3 separate regions of the Homo sapiens genome follow, and regions 1 and 3 are each linked to region 2. Evidence: promoter capture Hi-C in human tissues and cell types (Jung and others, 2019). All regions are on one chromosome and are shown on one strand. The core of a region is centred on a gene start or on the middle of the fragment in contact, and the rest is flanking DNA. Distances in the headings are between cores, read along the strand shown. Region 1 overlaps LOC339166 (a long non-coding RNA gene). Region 2 holds the start of AIPL1 (AIP like 1 HSP90 co-chaperone). Region 3 overlaps LOC339166 (a long non-coding RNA gene).

Region 1 (3,855 bases), core at 342-2,841, 640 kb before region 2:
TGAACACAAAGAACAATACAATAAATGTGTAACAATATAATAAATGTGGGGCACTGACAAATGCTCCACAGACTACCTCAGAGTTCTCAGGGCCTGTGGACACTAACTTCTAAAGTCTTAGGTTGCACTTATGGCCTCTTTGCTGGGTTTTTTTTTTCCCATGAAAGGAGAGCAAGACATACTCTGTCCACCACAGACATGGATCAGTCGTTTCCTGGGCTTCACCAGAATGTCTCTTCTGGTTTTCATTAGTGAAGCGTGTTCACCATTGAAGACCAGAAGGGGCATTTAGGGAAGGACAATGGCAGCACTCATTACCCGGGTGAATCCGTGATTTCTGGACTGTGGGCCTCTTTTCTCACAGGGACCCTTGTCAATGCTCAGCTGAGAAAAGTCTTCACAGCACAGCTTACAACAAATCTATTAGAAGTGCAGAAATCTCCTAAAAGTGCTGTCATTAAGTCACATCACAGTCTTTTTCTCTCTAGTGATTCAACACATACTTTTTGAGTGACTATTATGTTCATATATTAGGTGCTAGGGATAAAATTGAGAACAATGAAGACATCTACTCTCAGGGAATTTATATTCAGGAGACAAAGAAAAAAATTGAATACATATGTACAAGATAATGGCAGGTAATAAGTGCATTAAAGAAAAACAAGAAAGTGCATTGAAGAAATGCAAGAATGACAGGAATTGTTACCATTTTAAATGCAGTGGTCAGAGAAGTCTCTTCTGAGGAGGTGACATTTGAGTAGGGACCACAAAGCAAGCCATGAGAATATATGAGAAGGTGTTTTTGGGCAGAGAAAACAGCAAGGCCAAAGGCCTGAGGCGGGAGACTGCAGGGTATACTTGGGTAGGAAGGCATTGTGGATGGAATGGAGTGAGCAAGTGGTACAGTGGGAGACAACAAAGCCAGAGATGACATCTTTTTCCTTTTCTTTGCCATTTAACTAAATTCCGAACATTGGCATATATTCTTTTTCTTTCCCTGGAAACTCTTTGATTCCACACTGGCAGCTTCCAAAGATGTACTCACTTCTGGGCATGTATAGGGTCTCATAGAGCTGAATTGCAATACCACCTCTCACCAGCAGTTGCCACTAGGGCACCCAATTCCTACAGTTTTGTAATTCTATTTCAAATCTGCAACACATTGAGTGCATGCCAGGGGTCAAGTACTGCGCAGGCTGCTGGGTTACAACAATAAGTTAGATACAGTCTGGTAGGCATAAATTCAAGGCTTCAGTGAAATGACCCATGTGGAGACTGACTTCTGGCTTTGACGAAACAGAATAGGCCGATGCTCATTCTACTTTGGTTCTGTTGCTGGGGACAATGAAGGCTCTATCCCTCTGTCTTCCTCCCGCATCAGCCTGAACTTCAGGTCACCTCCTAACCCAAGACCTTTCTGAAACCTCAGCTACATGACATCATTTTCTGGTGTCATCTGAAAGAAGGAGAGTCTCCAGTCTGGAAAAGCTCCCTTGGGATTTTTCTGACAGGTGGTGGAAAAGAACAATTCCAATTCCTCTCACCTTTAGATTGTACCCTCCAAACCCTGCAATTAGGTCTCTGTCTTGCTGGATTTTCTCCACAACCCTGAGACTTGGGTATTATTATCTACATTTTACAGTTGAGAAAGCTAAAGGTCAAAAGGGCAAGGGGATGTTCCCAAGTTTTTGTTGGTTACTAAGCTACTGCCTCTCACCTTCAGACTTGCCTTTCCACACTCAGCTCTGCAACTTGCAGCTGAGAGTGGGAACAGCATTTTTACTTAGCCAGCGGGTTTCCTATTGGGTTTTGTCATTAGGGGGCACTAGAGGGATGCTGGAGGCAGGAGAAGGGAGAAGAGCTGTGGAGCTTCCTGTTTTGCTTGTTGCCCCTGTAAGTGGTCTGGCCTGAGATCCCAGTCTCTTGGGACCTTACAGTTTCTATGATGTGGTCACCGTTTGGTCCAGCTGCCCAGACTTGCTAAACATCCCTTGGGCTGGTCCTCCAGGCCCTGAGATACCCTCCAAAGGATTAGGGGTGCCCTCTTCTCCCACAGCAGCTTGGAAAGTACCATAAATTCACTTGTTCTCTTAATTTGTGAAACCTCCTGGACTTGTCTATGAAGAGCTCCTCAGAAACACCCTCTTCATTACAATGTTAAATTAAAATTTAGTAGACGAGGCACATAGCAGAATAAACTTTCAATTAAAATATACACACTGCGATGGTGAAGGGAGACTGGAGAGAACTTGCCGGCATCTTTGCCGTGAATGTGCTCGAGATTTAATTTTACTATGACATCTCCTTGGAATTACACAGCTAATTGATCACATTGTGTCTGTCTGTTATTGAAACTTTCAATAAAACTGAGATTAATGGAAGGTGTAATCCTCCCGGGCAGAACAAATATTCCCATTGCTCATGTCAGGTACAGAAATGGAAATGCTCTGCTAACAGCTTTTTGCATTCAATCTGCGCACATGAAGTTAATCATGAAAAATGCAGTGATTCTTTAATGGCTTGAATGAAATTTTTTCTGCCTGCCCCATTTCTCACCCAAAATAGCTGCCCTTGTCAGAGACTCGAGTGAAGTGGCTGAGAGGCAGAGCCAGGTTCCAGGGGCTGGGGCTCAGGACGGGCTGGTGATATGGCTGGTGCCTATATCTGAGGACAGGGTCCACCACCCTTGAGAATCAGTGTGCCTGTCAGATGGCATAGAACCGGGAAGGAACGAAACCCAGCTACTACAGGGGCCAAGGGCACCCCCCATCAAATTGTAATTTTGGCAAGAGTTTCTGTGGTAAGCCATGGGGAAAAGGGCTTGTCTCTGAGACTCCCATGTGGGGAGTAACAGGTGCTGAATCTAGAAGCCACCAAAAAAGAGAAACCTCCTAGTTCTAGCTCAGGTGGGAGGCAGGGTAGTATAGCAGTTAAGAGCATCCCAGCTCTACTATTAACCAGTGACCTTGGACAAGTTACTTAAATTTGCCTTGCTTGTTTCCCCTCCTGTAGATTAAAATGATGTCTTAAAGTGTTGTGATTTATGTTGCTGACATATGCAAAACACCCAGAATGGGGCCCAGCCCATGCCGTGCAAGCGTTGGCTATTATCATTACTATGCTCTCAGCTGAAGCTTTGTCTTCTCCACCAGCATCTCCTGTTCAACGGTATTTAAGGACAGGCTTTGGAGTCAGTTCCTAGGGCCTTGATTACTAGATCTTCCCGGATTCCTATATCTCCAAGCTGCAGTTTTCTTTACTGTAACTTAGAGATGCTATTACTTGCCTCCTAGGGTTGTTGTAAAGATGAAATATGTGTAGAGTCCTCAGCATGCAGAAAACACTTAATAAGTAGCTATTACAATCCCGACCATTGTTTCCATCCAGGCCCTGCAGAACCGATCCAACTCCCAGTATGAGCATGGGAAAACCCTGCCTCAGGTTTAGTTGTGATTGATCTTCCAGTAGCTTCTATCCATTTGAGTTCCTTGAACTAGGTCTGGATAACTGGGCCACGCTGAAGTCAGTTCCCTCTAACCCATGACAGCCCTTCTGATTCTTGAAATTGGTCCTCCTGTTTCCCCAAATCTTCCCTTTCACAGGAGGAGCACTCGTAGCTCCAACGAATGTCCTTCCAACACAGTGGATTCTGGTTGTTCATTTACCTGAGGCTACCCTTCTTTGATCAAGCCTGGTTGACCACATATGTCCCTTTGAGAGTGTGGGGGACTCAGTACCTCGGATGAGTCTGTAGCAGTGTAAAGGAGAGTGATGTGGCCATCACCCATATTCTGGACCCCATGCTTCTATTGATGTGGTCCAGGTAGCATTTATTTCTTGGTAACCATATCACAC
Region 2 (3,617 bases), core at 1-2,500:
GCCCAGAAAAGACTAGTCCCAGGAGACAGGCGCGCAGGGCCTACTTACGATGGTGTCGCACCAGAACTCGGCCACCTCGTGCACCCGCATGGAGGTAAGCAGGATCTCCCAGACCTCGAGCTTGAACATGTTTCCGATGATGATGTGCATGGGCTGGCCCACCTGCCGACTGTCGTCAATGACTGTCCGCTCCTCATCACATTTCATGGTGCGGAAATGAAAGATCACCTAGTCACCGAGACGGTGCACTCTGCTCTAGACACACTGTTCAAGGCCCGGCAGAAGCCACCCCCTTGCCACCGACACCCAGGGCTGTCCCCAGGGTCAGCTCACTCAGTTCACCCCATCAGATGCCTCAGACCCCTGGAGCACCTCCACCCTGCCTGCACCCCCCAGGGAGGAGGGACCCACCCCTCCCTACAGACCCCATTCCACTCCCCACAGCCCTGTGCGTCCAGAAATCCTTCCTCAAGTAAGCCCGAGTTCTTTTTTTTTTTTTTTTTTCTGAGACAGAGTCTCACTCTGTTGCCCAGGTTGGAGTGCAGTGGTATGATCTCGGCTCACTGCAACCTCCACCTCCTGGGCTCAAGTGATTCTCCTGCCTCAGTCTCCTGAGTATCTGAACTGGGATTACAGGCGCCCAGCACATCTGGCTAATTTTTGTATTTTCAGTAGAGATGGGGTTTCACATGTTGGTCAGGCTGGTCTCGAACTCTTGACCTCATGATCTGCCCATCTTGGCCTCCCAAAGTGCTGGGATTACAGGCGGGAGCCGCCTCGCCTGGCCAAAGCCCGAATTCTGTAGCCACAGACGCACCCTTCAGTCCAGGGAAGCCTAACAGACATTTGGGGACAAATACCAAGACTCCTCGGACTCCCTTTCTTCTCACTCAACATTTAGGGCCCCAGAAAATTCCCAAAAGCCCTTCCCCTCAGCCCATGCTAAAGTTGAATCTGCAAAGTACCAAAAATGCCCCCTGAATGGGTAAACGCTGGGAGCTCCCCGGAGGCCCAGCGCTGGGGCTGCCTGGCTGTTTTTTTGGCACAGCTGAAAGCTGTTTACAGTGCCTTGGGGCACACCTGGAATGTTGAAAGCTGCTGTGGGGGACCCTGTCTGCTCCGGAGGGGCCCCACTCACTCGGGATCCGGTGATGAAGTTTGGGAGCTCGCCCGTGCCCCCGTGCAGAATGGTTTTCTTGACCCCTTCCACGTTCAGGAGCAGAGCGGCATCCATGGCTGCAGGAGAAAGGGAGGTGTCCAGCACAGGCGGAGATAATCTCACCTCCGGGGAAGACACTTAGGCGGCTGAGACTCTGGGATTTACCCAGCCAGGAGGAGTGGGGGGAAGGGCAGACGGTGGGGGCGGTGACCTAGGCGCCCCGGCTTCTCATCAGAGCCACTCGGGCCGGGCCTGTGGTCCACAGGCAGCCTCGCCTCCTATCCCATCCACCTTTGCTTCCAGTGATTCTGGGCCCCTGCCCAGGGTTGTGCTAGATTTGGCTTTTTGTTCCACCCCAAGAAGGAAAAAGGTCCGCTGAGCTTTCTTAAAGAAGACAGGGGACCAGGCGCGGTGACTCACGCCTGTAATCCCAGCACTTTGGGAGGCCGAGGCGGGCAGATCACAAGGTCAAGAGATCGAGACCATCCTGGCTAATATGGTGAAACCCCATCTCTACTAAAAATACAAAAATTAGCCGGGGGTGGTGGCGGGCGCCTGTAGTTCCAGCTACTCGGGAGGCTGAAGCAGGAGAATCGCTTGAACCCGGGAGGCGGAGGTTGCAGTGAGCCAAGATAGCGCCACTGCACTCCAGCCTGGCGATGTGGAGAGAGGCCTGGAGGCCACTGAAGGGGAAAAGGAGGGGAGGCATGGGCTGGGCCCAGACTCTAAGTCCCCGAGGACCCCAGGCCAGCCGGGGTGACAGCTGCCCTTTGCCATCCAGCCACCTTTCTGCTTTCCCTGTTCCCCCTCCCCTCCCCAGAATCTGCCTTCAGGAGGCCCTGCGATGGTGGCCCAAGGCAAGAGGGGACAGGTTTCTGGCTTGGGAGAGAAGGAAGACGGAGAACGAAAGGCGGGGTGGGTTTGGGTAAAGTTGAGGCGCCCTCCGCAGCCCCGCTCCTGCCTCCCCTGCAAGGTCTGGCTGGGGGAAGGGTGGGTATCCCCTCCCCTCCCCTCCCCTCCCCTCCCCTTTGGAGGCCCTTAGCCCTGTGCCCTGGGAACCAGGCAGAGTTTATTGAGGGCATCAGGGACGCCCAGAAGGGCTGGGAAACATAAATGCGAAGACCTGGTGTTTGGCACCACCGTGTGGCCAGTTCAAGCTCCTACACCTCCGCACCCTGAGGGCACTGGACTCAGCTCCACGAAACCATTCTCTTCCTGACACCAGGCTCACCGGTTGCAGAGGGAAGGGGTGCAGGACTCTGCTACAGGGAGAGATAAAAACACGGGACTAAGGAGGCTGAAGTAGGTGGATCACCTGAGGTCAGGAGTTTTGTATTTTTAGTAGTCTGTACTAAAAATACAAAAATTACCCAGGCATGGTGGTGCGCACCTGTAATCCCAGCTACTCAGGAGGCTGAGGCAGGAGCCTCGCTTGAACCCGGGAGGCGGAGGTTGCAGTGAGCTGAGATCGTGCCACTGCACTCCAGCCTGAGCAACACAGCGAGACTCTGTCTCAAAAAAACAAAACAAAACAAAAAATGCTAGACTAGGCTGGGTGCAGTGGCTCATGGCTGTAATCCTAGGACTTTGGGAGCCAAGGCAGGTGGATCACCTCAGATCAGGAGTTAGAGACCAGCCTGGCCAACATGATGAATCCCCATCTCTACTAAAATTACAAAACTTAGTCGGATGTGGTGGTGGGCACCTGTAATCCCAGCTACTCAGGAGGTTGAGGCAGGAGAATCGCTTGAATCCAGGAGATGAAGGTTGCTGTGCACCAAGATCATGCTGCTGCACTCCAGCCTGGGGCACAGAGTGAGACTGTGTCAGAAGAAGAAGAAGAAGGAGAAGGAAGAGGAGGAGGAGGAGGAGGAGGGAAGAGGGAAGAGGGAAGAGGGAAGAAGAAGGAAGAAGAAGAAGAAGACTGGACTGAGCCAGATACAGCTAAGTTCAAAGGGCTGATCCTTTCCTATTTACTGACCTTGTTGCCTTGGATGTCTCTCGTTTTCTCTAACTGCATTTTCCCAACTGAAATGAGAAAATTGACCTCTCCTGCTCCTTCTCAGGGGAAGTTGGGAGGGCTGCAGCAGTGAATGGCACCCTGAAATCCGGCACTCATGAAAGTCTTGCTTCCCGTGAGGAGTCATTGGCATAGAGGAGACCAAACCTGGGCCAACTGGTCAGGCCCAGGGAATCCTGGCCAGATCCCCAAGGGTCCAGTCTCCATCCCTGGAAGGCAGAAGGCTGCTGAAAACCTTCCCCTTCTCTCTTCCATCCTTTCTCCAGCCACACGGCAACCTAGAGAGGTCTGCATGCATAGGTAAAATGGATACTTAGTAAAACTAATACAGGAATTATTAAGAAATAATTTTTAGGCAGATAGTAAGGGTAAAGGTTCTTGGTGGAAATTTTCCTGCAATAAAAAACAAGCCCCCAAACCATCTCTTTTCTAACAGAA
Region 3 (3,631 bases), core at 647-3,146, 620 kb before region 2:
ATTGCAGGCATGAGCCACTGCACCTGGCCACGATTACTTTTCTGCATACTATGATGGCCCAGCCTTTCATCTTCCATGCAATTCATAACTGTCCTGGGTCTTTCATTTCTCTCGTTTTCTGTGGATTTTCCAATAATCCAATGCCAAGCTCTCTGCCAATTGTCTAGATTTCCCCAGAAGGTGTTCAGACAGATATACTATATGTTTCATTTTCCTGAAGAAACCCCTAACCAGCCTGTCAGAGGTGGGTGTTCTCCCAGCCTGCTGCTTAGTTGACATCTGGGACCTTCCATCACATCATTGTGGAGATTCTCTTTGCCTGTCTCCTGGGTTGGATCTCCTGTGTACTCTGTCCCCTGTATCTCTTTCTCTGTTTACCCTGCTTATTGGGGACCAACCCATCTCTGCTGTTTTCATGAGAAACAGTGCCTGGAAGATAGACTTTTGACATCTTGCATGTCTGACAATATCTTCATTTGACCTTTACACATAATTGGTAGCTTTGCTGGGTAAAGACTTATAGGTTGGTAATTATTTTCCTTTCAATGTGGATCCTTCAGTTTTGGGATTTTTAGTCAATTGTTCCTTTCATCATTTTCTCAGGTCCCCTTTCTGAAATTCCTTTTGTTTAAATATTATACCTTCTGGACATGTCTGCTAACATATTTTTCTCCTTTCCACCTTTTTGTCTTTTGGGAGATATCTCTTCACTCTATCGTCTATCCTAATGAGTTTTTCATTTCTGCATAATTTTAGAAGCTATTTGATAATTTTAGAAGTTTTTTGATGTTTATGTTATTTCATTCTTTTTTTTTAATCGGTGCCATTTTCTGTTTTTTTGAGATAGAATCTCACTTTGTCACCAGGTTGGAGTGCAGTGGCATGATCTCGGCTCACTGCAACCTCTGCTTCCTGGGTTCAAGTGGTTCTCCTGCCTCAGCCTCCCGAGTAGCTGGACTACAGGCGTGAGCCACCATGCCTGGCTAATTTTTTATATTTTTAGTAGAGATGGGGTTTCACCATGTTGGCCAGGATGGTCTTGATCTCTTGACCTCATAATCTGCCTGCTTCAGCCTCCCAAAAGGCTGGAATTACAAGCGTGAGCCACTGCGCCTGGCCTCATTATTTTTTTACAGCAATCTTTCCTCTCTGCAAACCAAAAATAAAATTCTAAGACCCCCACAGCCATCTAAAGGGACCCCTCCTCTTGGCCAAGGGCATTCCAAAGTTAAGCTGAAAAACAAGTTCAGGCCATGATGGGAAGAGGGAGCTGGACATGCCTCATTATCCCCTCTGCCCTTTTGGAATTATGGATAGAACAGACTCTGTACATCTGAGAAGAAACATTTACAGTCTATTCTCTCTGTATCCTGCTACCTGGAGTCTTTGTCTGCATGATAAAGCCTTGGTCTCCACAACCCCTTATGGTTACCCAGACATTCCTTTCTAGTGATTTTTTTTTTTTTTTTTTTTTTTGAGACAGAGTCTTGCTCTATCACCCAGGCTGGAGTGCAGTGGTGCAATCTCGGCTTACTGCAAGCTCCACCTCCTGGGTTCATGCCATTCTCCTGCCTCAGCCTCCTGAGTAGCTGGGACTACAGGTGCCCGCCACCACTCCTGGCTAGTTTTTTTTATTTTGAGTAGAGATGGGGTTTCACCATGTTAGCCAGGATGGTCTCAATCTCCTGACCTCATGATCCGCCTGCCTGAGCCTCTCAAAGTGCTGGGATTACAGGCATGAGCCTCCGCACCCAGCCATTCCTCTCTATTGAGAATAACTCTTTTGACCAATTGCCAGTCAGAAAGTCTTTGAATCCATCTATGACTTGGAAGCCCCACCCTGGTTGTCCCACATTTCCAGATGGATCCAATGTACATATTATATGTAGTGATTAATGTCTCATGTCTCCCTAAATGAATAAAACGAAGCCGTTCCCTGCCCACCTTGGGCACACGTCCTCAGGATCTCCTGAGGCTGTGTCCTTAACCTTTGCAAAATAAGCTTCCTAAATTGATTGAGACCTGTCTCAGATACTTTTGGTTTACACTACTGTGATGGATAGTTTTCTCTCTCTTTAAGTTTCCCTTTTCCTGCAAGGTCTCTGCCTCCTCCAAGCTGCTCTTTTTCCCATGCTTATTTAAGTTTCTGTCTTTCACATTAAAGTTCTCCTCAACTGTCTGGGGAGCCTTAGTTCCAGCTCATATTTGAAAGCTAACTGGAAGCTGCGCTTATGGATACAGCTTGTCAATTGTGAGCTTCACGTAGCTGGTCTCTGGGCATCTCAATGTTGGTATCTCTAGGTTTTTCCTTTGGAGATTGTCAGATGACCTGGAGATCATTTCCATGTCCTGCCTAGCAATCTGGGAGCTGAGGGCGAGAAGAAGTCTGGGAGGTGGGGTTCCGCACTGAGTCTGCAAACCTTTACTAATTCTCCCTGCTCTCTGCTGTATCTGGGGTGCTTCAGTGCCTCTATTTTTTTTCCTTTCCCTAGAGAATAGACCTTCCAGAGACTAAAGCTTCAGTTCTCTGCAGGGGTGAGGAAAAAGGGACTTGCGATCTTCTTACACAGACTCTCAACTAATGGCTTTGTTTCTGTCACATGTTAATCTACATTTCCAGCAGACTATGGTAGTGGGGGCAGGTGGTCTGAGATGTAATCCAGGTTGCCTGTTGGCTTTTCTTACTCTTGATTGAGAAGCAGATTTCTTAGTTACAGCCCTTCCAACTGCTCCTCCAGCTGCTTTCCTGCTTCCAAAATTTTGTTGTAGTTATATCCTTTCACTTACCTTTTAAAACCTAATGGGCTTATGACTTAAAAGAAATCCTTTTATTGTTATTTTAGTGAGGCTTGAGATAGAGCAGTGCTAAATGCATGTGTTTAACCTGCGCCAACTTTAACTTTTTAAAATTACAAATAATACATGTTTACTGTAGCAAAATTAGAAAATATAATTAAGAAAATAACACATAATCCCAGCACTTTGAGAAGCTGAAGCGGGTGGATCACCTGAGGTCAGGAGTTTGAGACCAGCCTGGCCAATGTGGTAAAACCCTGTCTCTACTAAAAATACAAAAATTAGCCAGGTGTGGTGGTGTGCACCTGTAGTCCCAGATACTTGGGAGGCTGAGGCAGGAGAATCACTTGAACTCGGGAGGCGGAGGTTGCAGTGAGCCAAGATCATGCCATTGCACTCCAGCTTGGGTGACAGAGGGAGACTCTGTCTCAAAAAAAAAAAAAAGAAAGAAAGAAAGAAAGAAAATAAATGTAACCACAGTAATAATGCTCTTACTTAGGAAAAATGATTGTTAATATTACAGAGGTAGGTCCTTCCATTACTTCATATATATTAATTCTTTCTCACTATATTATATATGTATGCAATGATTGGAAATCAATAAACACACTATTTTTAATCTTAATGTGAACACCTTTCCAAGTCTCTAAACATATTTCTAAAATGATTTTAATGGGGCTGGGCATGGTGGCTCATGCCCGTAATCACAGCACTTTGGAAGGCTGAGGCAGGTGGATCACCTGAGGTCGGGAGTTTGAGACCAGCCTGGCCAACATGGAGAAACCCCGTCTGTACTAAAAATACAAAATTAGCCGGGCGTGATGGTGCATGCCTG

Evidence for each region. The method cuts DNA at HindIII sites, captures the fragments that hold promoters and counts their contacts. A contact is called where the count stands out against the background at its distance.
Region 1: a fragment that was not itself captured here is called in contact with the fragment with the promoter of AIPL1 in region 2 in 2 of the 25 tissues and cell types used here (mesendoderm cells and spleen).
Region 3: a contact is called between a fragment that was not itself captured here and the fragment with the promoter of AIPL1 in region 2, in 1 of the 25 tissues and cell types used here (spleen).

The regions. Positions count from the first base shown.
Region 1 is chr17:5,792,239-5,796,093 of GRCh38, forward strand. The region is part of intron 1 of LOC339166 (a long non-coding RNA gene); the gene reads left to right. Among named protein-coding and RNA genes, the nearest start is that of NLRP1, 210 kb to the left of the region's middle. The HindIII fragment of the contact is 5,445 bases long and covers 1-3,855 here.
Region 2 is chr17:6,433,871-6,437,487 of GRCh38, forward strand. AIPL1 (AIP like 1 HSP90 co-chaperone) reads right to left here and starts at 1,251. Exons shown (of 6, transcript NM_014336.5): 1 at 1,139-1,251; 2 at 49-228. The coding sequence starts at 1,234. It overlaps LOC107985017 (a long non-coding RNA gene), which reads right to left. Exons shown (of 3, transcript XR_001752776.2): 3 at 3,428-3,467. The HindIII fragment of the contact is 7,871 bases long and covers 1-3,617 here.
Region 3 is chr17:5,810,965-5,814,595 of GRCh38, forward strand. All of the region lies in intron 1 of LOC339166 (a long non-coding RNA gene), which reads left to right. Among named protein-coding and RNA genes, the nearest start is that of NLRP1, 230 kb to the left of the region's middle. The HindIII fragment of the contact is 3,094 bases long and covers 350-3,443 here.